2 separate regions of the Homo sapiens genome follow, and region 1 is linked to region 2. The links are contacts of gene promoters, found by promoter capture Hi-C in blood cells and fetal thymus (Javierre and others, 2016). All regions are on one chromosome and are shown on one strand. The core of a region is centred on a gene start or on the middle of the fragment in contact, and the rest is flanking DNA. Distances in the headings are between cores, read along the strand shown. Region 1 holds the start of MIR770 (microRNA 770). Region 2 holds the start of LINC02285 (long intergenic non-protein coding RNA 2285).

Region 1 (6,649 bases), core at 1,529-4,028, 270 kb after region 2:
CAGCGGGTCCTTGGGAGCCAGCTCTAGTATAGCACTGGCTAATTTTTTAAAAACGTCTGTTGGCTGTGAGTGAATGAATGAAGGGATGAAGGGATGAATGGATGAGTTACAACCACTGCCACCCTGTGGAGGAAGCTGAAAGGCTGAAAGCAAAGCTCATGGGAGGGACCATGCGCCAGGCAAGGTGAGGCCTGGGGAGGACTTCTCCGCTCATGGGTGGGAGGGCTTGGCCCCAGGCTACTCTTGACCCCGACCCTGGGTCACAGTCGTGGTGTGTGACACATGGAAAGCACCATGGGGAAGAAGCTATGGGTGACAGTGGCAGACGAGATCCAGCTGGGACGTGCTCAGGGCAGTAACCCCGGAGGAGGCAGCTACAAGAAAGGGTGTTTGCTTCATAACCACAGCCCATGGCGCTACACAGCCCACCCAAAATGAAAGGGTTTGCTTTCAGGAGAAGAAAAGGCCAAAAGCACGGGGTCAAGATAAGTAGGCCAAATGCATGGATGGGTAGATGGAGCAATTCATGTTGAAAGTCATTGCCGGCCTCCCAAACTCGGATACCAAGCTAAACATGTGGGTGAGGGATTCTGACACGGGCAAACAGTGCTCAGTGCTATAGTAGAGGGATGGGTGGGCAGAAGCAGCTCTGCTGAGAGCGGAGGATGCTCTGGAAAGAAGGGCGAGCCCTCCTTGGGTGACATGCCCTCCCTAAATGGCTGTGACTGACCTGTGAGCCCTGATGCTTTGGGCAGAACATGCCCTTTATTCCGCTCCTTAGAATGTAATTGCCCCAGGTGAAGAAAAATGAAAGGAGATTCTCCCATCAGTCCTGATCCAAAATGTTCCATTCGTCAGTTAAACCCCAAAGACCACCACTGAGGCCACATGTGCAGGCCAGGGCTGAGGACATTTGCTGACATATCACAGGACGCGGGGAACCCAATTCCCCTAAGAGGTGGGAAAATGGAAACCCCAGGGCCTGGCTTCATCGGGATCTAATAGGAATGAGTGACTGCGCTGGTGGGAAGGCCACTAACTGATTGTACAGGGTGCTAGGATGTGGCTGTCTGGACCTTGGAGGTTCAAAGAGCTATTCCTGTCCCACAGGGGTTTTATCAAGGGCAAGATCGGAGTCCACAAGCACACCCAGGAGGTCCAGCCTGCAGTGTCTACACCTGCCAATGGAAGGTGTCTTTTTCCCCATCACCCACTTCCCAGGGAGAAGCAAATCCTAACATCAAACAGACCTGAAAGGCCACCTAGGCCAACCCCACACCATGAGAATCTCCTAAACACTACTTTCTCTGAGGGCTGCCTGGCTGGTTCCTTGAATGCCTCCAGTGAGCTATGGGCTCCCTACATCCCAAGGACATCTGGGACCAGTCTCTTCAGAAAGCCATGACCCAAAGGACTTGGACAAACAGTTCACAGAAGATAAAATACAATTTGTTAACAAACATAGGTCAAAGTGTTCACCCATCATTAGTAATTAAAGCAATGCAAGTTAAAGTAATGCAAAAGTACTTTATAACAGAGACAAACTAGCCATATCTTAATTAAGTGGTCATACATTGCTGAACATTGTAAAATGCTGTAAGCTTACTGAAATTATTCAACATCCATACAAAGATCCATAGCCTTTCTTTCAAGAGACTTAACCAAAGGAAATTCATTCATTCATTCACCAATCCATCCTTCCGCCTATCCTTCCACCCTCTTATCCATCAGCCAAACACTCACTCACTCGCTCCTTCCTCCATTCTTCCATCCACTCATTCATCATTTATTTATAGTCTACAACATGTTGGGCATCAGAGATACAAAGGCCAATTCAATAAGCTCCTTGCCCTTATGGGGCTCACAGTCTAGCAGGGGAAACTGATCTGTAGTGAAGCAATGATAATTTCTGGGTGGAAGAACATAATTCTTAAGAATGAAAAAAAGGGTGTTTTAAGCAGTTAGTTGTGGCATTATTCATAATATTTTTAAAAGGTGGTTATACATAAGAATAACAGAATGGTTCTGTGAATGATGCCATAGCCACTCAACAAGGCACAACGCAGCAAGTGAGGTTATGAAGATTCATGGAACAAGGGAAAATGTTGATGACAGAAAATTAAATAGAAGAGGCAGGATACAAAAAAAAAAAAGTGTATGTGGTGAATAATGGCAATTAGGTTTTTTTAAAGAAGGGATGCTCATTAAAGAATAGACACTCTTTTTTTAAAAAAAGTATGCCTGTAAGAATGTAAAATGGGTGACATGTCAGAATGTTGAGTGGTGCATGCATTTCCCACTGCTCTAGGTCAAGTGCCATCCACACCATTTATATTAGGAACACAACGGGACACAGCAGGATTCGTGGCCTGTCTATCCCAGAGGTCCTGAGGCCAAGCTTCCCAAGGAGGGAGTTGGGAGTCACAAGAGGAGGCCAAGGAGAGTTGTAGCTCCTGGTGTCACCAGGAAAGGATTTGTGTGTGGGGAGCATGCAAATGACAATGTCAAGAGACAGAATTAATTCTCATTGTTAAAAGTTTAACGAACACATAAAGATAGGCCCTGACCAGACAGGAGCACTAGGATCCCAACTCGGACCTTGTGGGTCTGGTACAGAAAGAACCGGGTAGGGAGCACGTGAAGGATGTTTTATCTCTGGCTTTTGTGCCATTAGGAACCCTATCCCGAATCTCAGCATCCCAGAACTAAAGAACCTTTGAATTACAGATACAAAACTCTTAAGGGTCAAAACCCTAAGAGCCCTGATCCCCCCTCATGGCCTCCACATTTCCAAAAGGACACACAGAATTCATCCAACCCAAACCCACCCAGCCTCCAGGGCACCAGTGGGTCTCCCCAGAGCTGCTCTCATTGGCTCAGTTCGACCCACTGTGACCCGTCAGGACAGCCCCTAGATGTTGGGAGCAGGCTCTCCTAGCAGCCAACGTCGCTTGTTCCTTCCAATTTCCTCTTGGTGCATGCAATGGGCCCTCCCTTCCCCGCCTTCTGCACACTTTAAGTCTTCCTGAGCCTCTGCTGACTTTTTTTAACAGCCGTACATGAGTTCTTTTGAAAGACCCTCCCGGTCTTCTTCTGCCCTGAACCCCTCCCGCCCCATCCTCATCCAACAGTGACACAGCTTGTCAGGGAGAAGCTTCAGCAGGTGTCCCCAGGGATAATAAGTGCACCCCCAGACCTCAGTCCAGCCAAGGCATAGCCTGGAGCCCCAGATTCTGAAAGAGAAGAAGAGCAGACCCCTGAGGCCCCAGCACCACATCAGGCCCACGAGGCCCAGCTCATGTGGCCCTGACACGTGGTACTGGAGGCTCGGAAGGTGGCTCCTGACACATGAATTCCATGTCCTCCGCCTTCCAAATGCTGTTGCCATCCACTCGGCCGGAGCTAGAAGCGTGGGAACCACCCCCTTCTTCTTGCCTCCCTCCCTCCTTCATATCCTGTCTATAACCCCATAGCTTTGATTCCTGAGCACCCCACTTTGCTGCCATCAGCTCAGACCTCAAGCATCACACTAGCTAACAGCCCCATCCATGCCTGCGCCCGCACTCCCCATCCCACCCAGCGTCTACAGAGTCACTCTGAGCATGACGCCTCCCACTCCAGATGGCCTGGCCCCACCCCACTCCCCTGCCTCCCACGTGCTCCCTGCCACAAGTCCTGAGTCCATCCAAGCTGTGCTCCTACTGCTCCGGGCGCTTGTTAAGAATCCAGTGTTTTTATATGTCCCAAATAGGAATTGAGAGGTCAACAAGGGAGACTTTGGTCCTTGCTTTTACAGACAAACACAGGCACACAACACAAAACTACACACATTTCCTCCACTACAGAGAAAGGAGACTCAACAGAACCGGGGAGGCCCTGGGGGAGGACTGTCAGCACGAGCAACTCTCCAGATTTACCCCGGCAGTCCCCCGGAGGGCGAGTCAGAGAAGAGACAACCTCGACACAGCGAAACGCAATCCCGCCAAGTTACAAAACACGTCGTGAAACAGCCGAGAAGACAGAGAGGCCTTGAACCAGGCTCTGGGGATGGCATGTCAAGGAAGCCAGGGTCCCCGGACCACTTCTGCAACCCCAGGGGTGCTGAGGTGCACCTGCTGCCCAGGGAAACCTGAGTTGAGAAGGGTGGGCGCCCTGCCCCATGGAAGACCAGGCCAGAGGGTGGCCTGGGCACACTGCAGAGAGTTGCAAGAACAAGGTTTCTGGTGGCTTGCCCAGGGCTCCTGGGTCCCGGGGCTTCTGGGTCCCCCTTCTCAGGTGCGCCTGGCCACCTTCTGGCCTTTCCCTGCACCAACCCCTGGATGTGAGTAGGTGCCACACCCAGGGTGGCACACAGCAGGCGGGGCCCATGCTCCACCCAGGGCCTATTGCTCCCTGACCCTCTGCTGCCCCCTGGTGGGCAAAACCTCCTGTGCAGGTGACCCATGCCGCGGGAGTGGCCAAGCTACCCAACAGGCTTCACACCACTCGTTCATGCAACCTTCTGCGGGGCTCAGGGTCCAAGCCCTTCCTGCCTATCCAGGCCATAGATGGGGTACCATCAACAGAGACACATAAGATCAACTCTAGTAGGCAGCTGGTGCCACTCCAGGTTTACAGATGGGGAAACTGAGGAAGAGACAGATGCAGTGAAATGGCCCACACAGCCAAGATAGGGCAACAGCACCCCAAGACCAGGGTCTTCCTGAGCCAGCTCCTCCCTGCCAGGGCAAGTGCATGTGACAAGCACATGACATGCCTACAGCCACCCTCCCTGGGGACCACTTCATTCCACTGTCTAGAACACAGGACTGGAAAGAAGGTTCCTTCCTCTCTTCCCTTTTTCCCTCCTTCCTTTCTTCCTACCTTCCTACCACCCTTTCTTCCAGTCATTCGTTCATCCATTTAGATCTGAGTCCTTTGTTTATGGACTTCAGTAACATAGCTTGAAATTAATCATAGCCTTTGGCCTAAAGGCCTCCATTCACAAGTCCTATTTATTGACCGTTACATTATTTTATTCTTTATTCATTTCTTTTTCATTTCTTCCCAAATTGCATCTTTCTTTCTTCCTCTCACTCTTCCTTATGTTTCTCTGGTTCTTTCTCCTTCTTTTTTTTTTTTTCTTTTTTGATCTAAGATAGTGTCTTGCTCTGTAGCCCAGGCTGGAGTGCAGTGGTGCAATCTTGGCTCACTACAACCTCCACCTCCCGGGTTCAAGCAATTCTCCTCTCTCAGCCTCCCGAGTAGCTAGGATTACAGACAGGTGCCACCACGCCCATAATTTTTGTATTTTTTTAGTAGAGATGGAATTTCACCATGTTGGCCAGGCTGATCTCAAACTGGCTGGTCTCAAACTCCTGACCTCATGATCCGCCCACCTCGGCCTCCCAAAGTGCTGGGATTACAGGCGTGAGCCACCATTCCCAGCCATTCTTGGTTCTTATAAAGTCAGGTGGACAGAATCCCATGAATCAGGGCTCCCGGTCACCACCTTCATGCTGGTCCCTAAAGCACTACTGCTCCTACGTCAAGCACCATTCACTCTCTCATCCACTCACTCATTTGTCAGTCTTCCTTATTTTGGGTATTTGTTTTCCTTATTAATTTTTTTAATTAAAACTCCATGGGCAAACCAAACATCTTTGGCCCATGTATTTATTTGCAATCTTTCTTCCCCGCATTTAGTCACCTTTCACGTTTAAGTATTTATTCTTTTATTTATGAACCTCAATTGCATCTATTTTATTACAGTGGCAGAAGATACAGCCTTGTTTTGGAGCCAGGTATGTCTCTCTATTTTTCATTTATTCTTTGAAAGGTGTAATGTATTTATCTGTTTAAGGAGTATGTATGTAAACTAATTATAATCCCTGTTCAGACAACCTCCCTTAACTATCCATTTATCACTTTGGTTGTTTGTTTATTACCTTTCCTTTTTCCTTTTTCACATCTTTTTATATTTTCTCCATTTTCCCTCCCCCTGGGAACCTGGGCCTGGATTATCTCATCCATCTTCAGGATTACTGACAGTCTTATGACTAATCCTAACAGATCCTACTCTTACAGATACACCCACGTATTCGTTCTCTTTTTTATTGGTTTTTCTTTATTTTCCCTTTCGCTTTCATTTAGTTTCATTTTTGCCTTTCCTTAGCTCTATCTTTGACTCCCTGACACTTCTCTTCCTGCCTCTTTTCACGCTTATGGACCTCAGGTGCCCAGAGTGAGATGAATGACAATCCCATGGGCAGCTCCTTCCTGGCTGTGCCAGGCATTTCCATTTCTAATTCAGTCGTTCATGTGTCCATTCATTCTTTCTGTCATTCTTTCATTTCAATACTTATTCTTTTATTTATGGACCTCAGGTGCACAGAATTGGATTAACCATAATCTGCGGTTCCTGGAGCCTTCTGCACACTGGTCCGTGTGGGGCTGTCTTTTGTTTGTTAATTTCTCCCCCTGGGGATTTGGTGCAGGATTTATTTAACTATCTCAGGAACCCAGTTTTGAATTAGTCATAATTCTTGCTGCCTTCTCTCCTCTTTTTGTCCTTGCGTGGTCCACTCTCCCACATATTTATGTCTTTATTTATTCATTCAATATGTTTGTATTGCTTATATACATCCTGTCATACGTTTCCATATTCTCT
Region 2 (6,618 bases), core at 1,031-3,530:
GCATGAATATAATGGGATTTACTGCACATGTTACAGTGAATGGGCCTGGGCTCCCAGCCTCCTGGTCCCCACCAAAGGCAAGCTTCTTCCTCTCCCATCTGCTTCCCATTCTCCTGCTGACCGCAGTCTCTGTCCATCCTCCCAAGCTCTCAGAATCTGAGGCTCACGGTGTCAAGAGTGGAGGAATCAAGCCGATCGGGCTGGCTCTCCACCCAGACTGGGGGACTCCTCACTGAAGGGCCTCCACCTGGAAGATCAGGGCATGAGAGCTTCAGAGAGAGGCCAGGGGTGCTGACAGGTGAGCAGCCCTGGAGGCCTCCTGAGGACAGGCCCACCCCGTCCCAGTGCTGGCCTTGATCTATCTAGGGCCCAGTCCCACCGCAGGCTCCCTTGGGCCCTTCCAGGGTCTCGGGGAGGAAAGCCCTGGAATGACCTCTCATCATCTCTCATCCTATTCCAGAGATTTCTGGATAACACTTGTGCTTGAGAGGCCGAGCTCATGGGATCCCAAGGAGGCAGAGCTGCTAGAGGGGCCACCTGAGTTCTCCAGTCCTGGGAACACCCCACTTCGCTCTGAACCAACAAAGGCCTCCGCTCTCCCATTCCGAGGTCGTGTCCTGGGATCGCTGTGTTGAGTAATTACTTACTGGAAGCCGTCCCTCCCTCAGGTGGTGGGTGGGCCGTGTGCGCGCAAGTTCGAATTGTGTGTCCACAGAGGGAATATTCATGAACTCAGTGGCGGGGGTGGGGGTGTTTTGGAAGACAGACTTGGATTTCTGAGGGAGAAGATACTTACAAGGCCTTGGTGGCCAGCCAGGTTCCCCCTCAGCCTCTCGGGCAAGGACCCCAGGAGGCCACACATCGGGGGAGGCCTGGAGGCCCTGGGGCCAAGTATTTGGTTCCTGTCGATGAACAATTTAATGAGAGTTTTCAGAAGGGCCAGACAGCCCTGGGATGAATGGCTGATCCCAAAATAGCCTCAGCTGGCACTTGGGCAGCTTAAAAGAGGCTTAAAAACAGAAAGAACCTTCAAAGAAGGGTGCCCGGGTGCCCCTGAAGCACTCTCATGCGGAGGCCTGGGGTTCTGCTCCCCAGGGACGCTGCCCTGCCCCACTCTGCCCTGAGCAGCCGGGCACAGATGCACTCTGTCACATCCCGTCCTGGCAGAGGCCAGAAGGGGCTTGGCAGAAGGAGCCTTAGGTGAGCACCGTTCCCACCCAAAATGCCTGCCCTCCAGTCCGCCACGGTCGGCCCAAGCTCCCATACCACTGCCCATGTTGGAAAAGCCCCTCTTGGCAGCCCCTATCCCCCAGCAGGCAAGAGTGGTCCTGAGCCTGGAAGGAATGTTCTAGATGGGAAGAATTGTCTCCTACTCTCGGTGGGGTGCCCCGGACCAGCTACAAATGGTGAGGAAGACTTGACTCAAGAGTATTACAGCAGGGACAGAGATGGACTCAGTTCTGAACACAGTGGGGACACCTGGGGATTGACAGCCCATGGGCAAAGGGAGGGGCTGTGGATGGAAAATGATGACGTGGAATTCAATCATTTGTCAAGGGGAGGGGATTCTCAATCAGCTCACTTAGGATTCTCTGCTAAAATTGAGTTCAGCAGGCCGTGGTGGAGTCTCGTGGAGAAGAGCTCAGAGAGAAGGGCCCAACTGAAGGGCAGCCAGGGAGGGATCCCTGTTCAGCCACACGGAGGGCCCCTTGTCCTGAACTTCCTCTCGGATTCACTGCTCGCTTCAGCCCAGTTGCCCTCGTTGGCTCCCCTAGCACAGCTGACGTAGCCCTGAGACTTCCTCAAACCCGTTTAAAAGCTGGGGGACAAAGGGGAAGGAAACGCAGTGAGCACACCAGCAGGCTTCTGTCCCCAGCCAGGGCCCGTTCCTCTGGGTGGCCCTGGCTCGGGCCTCCGGTGGAGCCTCCTGCTCTGCGGATCTTCTGGTTTCTCATCTGCCCTCCCCTGAGCCCTGGGAGGACGGCGCTCACCGACACACTGGAGCTGCGCAGTTTCAGGCCACTGTTCCCAGACTTGCACTGACTCCATGATGATCAACTCTGCCCAGGAAGTTGTCTCAGAGGGTCACCAGGAAGTGCACGGTCCAGGTGGGCATTGGGTCATCCCAGCCCCAGAAAGGCTTCAGCATCAGAGGGCTGCAAAAATCTGTGTCCCCTGGCCCCCACGGGACACAGTTCTGCAGATACAGGGCTTCCCAGCAGGGCCCCAGTTCCAGCCCTCCTTGCTTCCAGGCACAGGCACAAGCTTCTTCTCAAAAAGACTGTGAGTGGAAGGGAAGTGGGCCACTTCCGGGCTGAGGTTTCTGAGATAGGGCTGGGCCATCCCCCTGGCCACTTTCCTTCTTTGCCAGCTGCACACAGAGGGCTCTGACTCTCCCTGAACAGCAGAGCCACAGGGGTCCCTGAGTCAGCCAGGAAGAGGGCCACCTGCCCACCAGAAGCACCACATGGAGCTGTTCAGGAAGCAAGAATTAACGGTGTTACATGAAGCCACTGAAATGCGGAGGTTTTGCTTGTTAGATGCTATTATAAGTTCCCTAATATGGCATGTTATAAATCATCTCTGGCTGCCTCTGAATACAGTGTGTTTTCTAAACCAAAAGTCGCAGAGTTTATTCCCGCCTTCTTTAAACCTCCGCAGTGCATGGCTTTCCCTCCTGGATGTCACGCACCTGCCGGTCCCCTGAGCTTTGAGTACTGTCTCCCTGAGCCGCACGGGATGGTCACGCAGGGTCAGGGCCCGTCTGGCCATCGCTGTGTTCTTGGGCCCAGCACAGGCTGTCCCCCGGTGGCTGTTTAGAAGAGGGGCAGGGCTAATAGATCCTAATTGTCTCTGCCATGCTCCTCCTGTCTGTTCTGGGATCAGTGGACGCCTCGTTCCTCTTGTTTTTCATTCGTGGGACTTTCATGGGAAGCTATTTCCCTGACGGCTGTTTGCACTGATTTTTCTGAGACGAGCAACATCCTTTGCTTCTTTTCCTCTAATCATCTGGAAATGCTGTGTCTCTTGGCATCGCTGTCTTGCCTGTCTTCCACCCACCAGCTGTCCAGCTCAGAGCACTCTCAAGAGAGTTAGCTCTGGAAGAAGGACACAACCCCCTTCAGAAGGTTCTGAAATGTAGAATGCTGCCTCTCCCTGGGGCTGGGGAGTTAAGGGAAAGCACGGTGTGGGAGGGAGAAAAGCAGGACTCACCTCTGCAACCCGAGGCTGCCTGCCGAGCAGGACAGGAAAGCAGGAGGTGGGGGGAGGAGGAGAAAGACTCCTTTGGGGGCAGGAGCCTGAGTTCATATCCCGCTCAACCACGGGCTCGCAGATCCCCAAACTAGAGGAGATCCGAGGTGCAGGAAGAATGAATACCCAGTGCTTGCTCCCCTTTCAGGCAAAAGAATCATTCTGTTCATTTGACAGATGAGAAAACTGAGGCCGAGGGAGTTCAGGTAATTGGGAAACTAAGACTCAGCCGGGAAAGTGATCTGGTCAGGACACACGTGGAGTGGTACACGATGGATGCAAACCCTAGCTCCTCCGACTGCCCAGCTCTGCCCCTGACCACACCTTCATGGTGTCCATGGATATGTTCGAGAAGGATGGCAGCCCTGGCCTCCTGCCTTGGAGCTGGCCCCTCCCGGCGATCCAGCCCTCATCTCTAAGAAGGGAAAGCCCAGCCCCGTCACATCCTGGCCACGCCCGACTGTCTTCACGCTCCTGGGGCTCGCTCTTGGCTCCCAGACACCCCATGTTCACTGTGCCCCCCGGGCCTGGTCTTTGTCTAGGGCCTCCTCCCTCCTTGCTCAAGCTGATTAAAGCTGATCTCTGTTCCAAGCAATTAAACTCCAACCTGAGACCCTGCCCCTGGTACCGCCCAGGGCTGCTGTTGGCTCCACGGAGACAGCGTCTTTCTTTGCACAGCTGTACATGCGGAAGGGATGGGCTCGTTCGGAGTCAAGATGGGGTCATTTGGGACAGTTCTGGACTGGGCCAAGGTCAGGAGACCTTTCCACCATTGCAGTTTCCTTCTAGTGTATAAGATACACAAACAGCAACACATCTGCCTCTAAAGCAGGGGAAAAAGAACAAGAAAAGCAAACTCCTTCTTAAAGCTTATTAGGAAGACAACACGTCATGTTAATTCTTTTAGTGGAGTGATGATGCGGGGAGAAACAACACTGCAAGTCCTCAGGGACTCTCCCCCACGTGCTCATGGAGACACTCAACTCTGTTCCAAAGAACAAAGTTGAAATAGTTTGTAGGCGAGAACTTGATGAAAATTTGACATTTGATAAGAAACTAATTTTGGTGTGCCTTTTTAATACCTTAAAACACTATAGTAATAAACAACATCTATAAATGTCAAACTTTTCTATTTTGATTATGTTGCTTTGATTTTTATCAACTTTTTTTTATTAAAAATCCACTGTAAATGAAATAGAGAAGGGAAGATCGGCACAAAAAGATAAATTTTACAGTTTATCAAGATGTAAGCGACAGCATCTCATTTTTTTCAGCACTGGGATTATTATTTTTTGTCTCACTGTGGTTATTATGATGTTTTTATCTTTGTCTTCGAGTCTAGGAAACTTGCAGAGCTATGGGAACTGGGATTAAATTGCAGAGTGAAGGCGGCTTTCGCCTCAGCAGAGCAGAAAGATGCCAAGGTGGGCCAGGGATGGGGGAGGAGGGACATGCTCAGATTCTCTAGCTCTTTGGGTAGCTGCCAGAAGAGTGGAGTTAACTCTTCTAGGACCATAGCCCTTCCCTGGCTAGTGCTAAAGTTCCTCTCTGAACCCCTGTGGGTTCCCCCACACCCACTCCCCATTCTGAAGTTTCACATTTAGTTGAGGCCTATGTCCTATGGCTGTCCAGGCTCCAGTGGGGGATGGATCTAAGTCTGGGTTCCCTGTGCCAAACATGAAGGCAGTGTTTGTGAGTGCTGGAAGGAGAGATGGAGGGAGGTGGATAAATGGGGAGATGAATGGATGGATGGATGGGCATAAGGATGTATGGAAAAGTGGATTGACAGATGGAGGAATATATAGATATATGGAAGGAGAAAAGGATGAATGGAATGACAGAGGGAGAAAGAAGCAGATGAATGGGTGGGTGGATGGATGGACACATGGAGAGATGGATGGATGGGTGGATGGATGGATGGATGGATGGATGGATGGATGGACGAATAGAAAAGTGGATGGAAGGATGGGAGAATATACAGATATATGGAAGGAAAATGGATGAATGGAATGATGGAGGGAGAAAGAAGCAAATGAATGGGTGGGTGGATGGATGGACACATGGAGAGATGGATGGATAGGTGCATGGATGGATGGATGGATGGATGCATGGATGGGTGGATGAATGAATGGATGGATGGGTGGAAAAGTGGATGGATGGATGGATGGATGGTTGGATGGATGGATGGATGGATGGATGGAAGAATACGTAGATATATGGAAGGAAAATGGATGAATGGAATGATGGAAGGGAGAGAGAAGCAGATGAATGGGTGAGTGGATGGATGGACACATGGAGAGTTGGATGGATGGATGATGGACAGATGGATGGATGATGGACACATGGGTGGATGAACGAATGGATGGGTGATTATATGAATGCAGGGAGGTATGCATGAAGATAGGGAGAAAGGGGGAGGGTGGGAGAGCAGGCCTGTTCACTGGCTGGCAATTTTAGAACCACAACCTGTCAAGGCTTTAGTTCAGGCTTAATAACCTCCCCAGATCCTTCTGGCTCTGAATATTTTCAGTCCTCCAAAGTCAAGCTCAAAATAAAAGGGAAGGAAAATAAATCTCTTAAGGTAGCCTCTGTGTGCTTTTGAGAAGCAGTCACTTACAAGGACAACCATAATAATCATTTTTCTATTCCTTCCCAATTTGTAAAACATGTCCATGCCCTCATTTAACCCTTACAACCACTTGGAGATGAACATCATCCCAGCTTATCTGACAGCGGAACCGGGACTCAGAGAGCAGGGGTTTGCCCAAAGTCAGATTGCAAGTGACAGACAGAACTGGATCCTGGAGAGTCGAGCCTTCTGGCCCCTCTCCCCCAACAAGTCCCATCTCTGGCCTCAGGAGGCCGAGCTTGCTGGAGGCCCAGGGTGGTGGGTGGCATGCCAGATTCAGCTTCCTTTTGTGCAGTCTGGTGGGAAAAAAGGAGCCCGACAAAGCTGGAGAGTATCGGAAGTCTTGCCTGAGACGCAGAGCTCTGGAGCGTTCCAGGCCTGTGAATTCCCTGCTCCTGGAGGGCAGGTGGGAGAGGAGCTGATGCTGTTCACGGTCAGGTCAGACGGTGCCGCAAGCCTGTCCTGAGAGATTTGGGATCCGGAGGTTTGTGCACAATGGTGGCAGCAGCACAGACGTAAAGCCCCAGTCCTCAGCATCAGAATCCGTGACTCTTCTGAAAATGTGACTTCAATTCCACCAGCGCTGCAAGAGCACTGAGCTTGGAGTGCTTGGAGTGGGAAGGGAGGGGGGCTTGAGGGTCACTCAGTGTCCATGAGTGGTAGATAGAACTGGGTCCTGGAGCAGCTGAGCTGCCTGTGCAGACCGGCAGGGCCACTGTGAGCGTGTGCTCAACTGC

Evidence for each region. Contacts are between HindIII fragments. The CHiCAGO score rates a contact against its expected background, and 5 or more counts as called.
Region 1: a contact is called between a fragment that was not itself captured here and the fragment with the promoter of LINC02285 in region 2, in 1 of 17 cell types (M1 macrophages). The highest score is 5.5, in M1 macrophages.

Annotation. Positions count from the first base shown.
Region 1 is chr14:100,849,084-100,855,732 of GRCh38, reverse strand. All of the region lies in intron 9 of MEG3 (maternally expressed 3), which reads right to left. MIR770 (microRNA 770) reads right to left here and starts at 3,343; the gene lies at 3,246-3,343. RefSeq lists an enhancer at 274-775. The HindIII fragment of the contact is 756 bases long and covers 2,401-3,156 here.
Region 2 is chr14:101,116,518-101,123,135 of GRCh38, reverse strand. It overlaps LINC02285 (long intergenic non-protein coding RNA 2285), which reads right to left and starts at 2,280. Exons shown (of 2, transcript NR_146490.1): 1 at 1,992-2,280; 2 at 1-247. It overlaps LOC124903386 (a long non-coding RNA gene), which reads left to right and starts at 1,840. Exons shown (of 2, transcript XR_007064341.1): 1 at 1,840-2,108; 2 at 2,372-2,622. RefSeq lists an enhancer at 6,027-6,618. The HindIII fragment of the contact is 1,856 bases long and covers 2,268-4,123 here.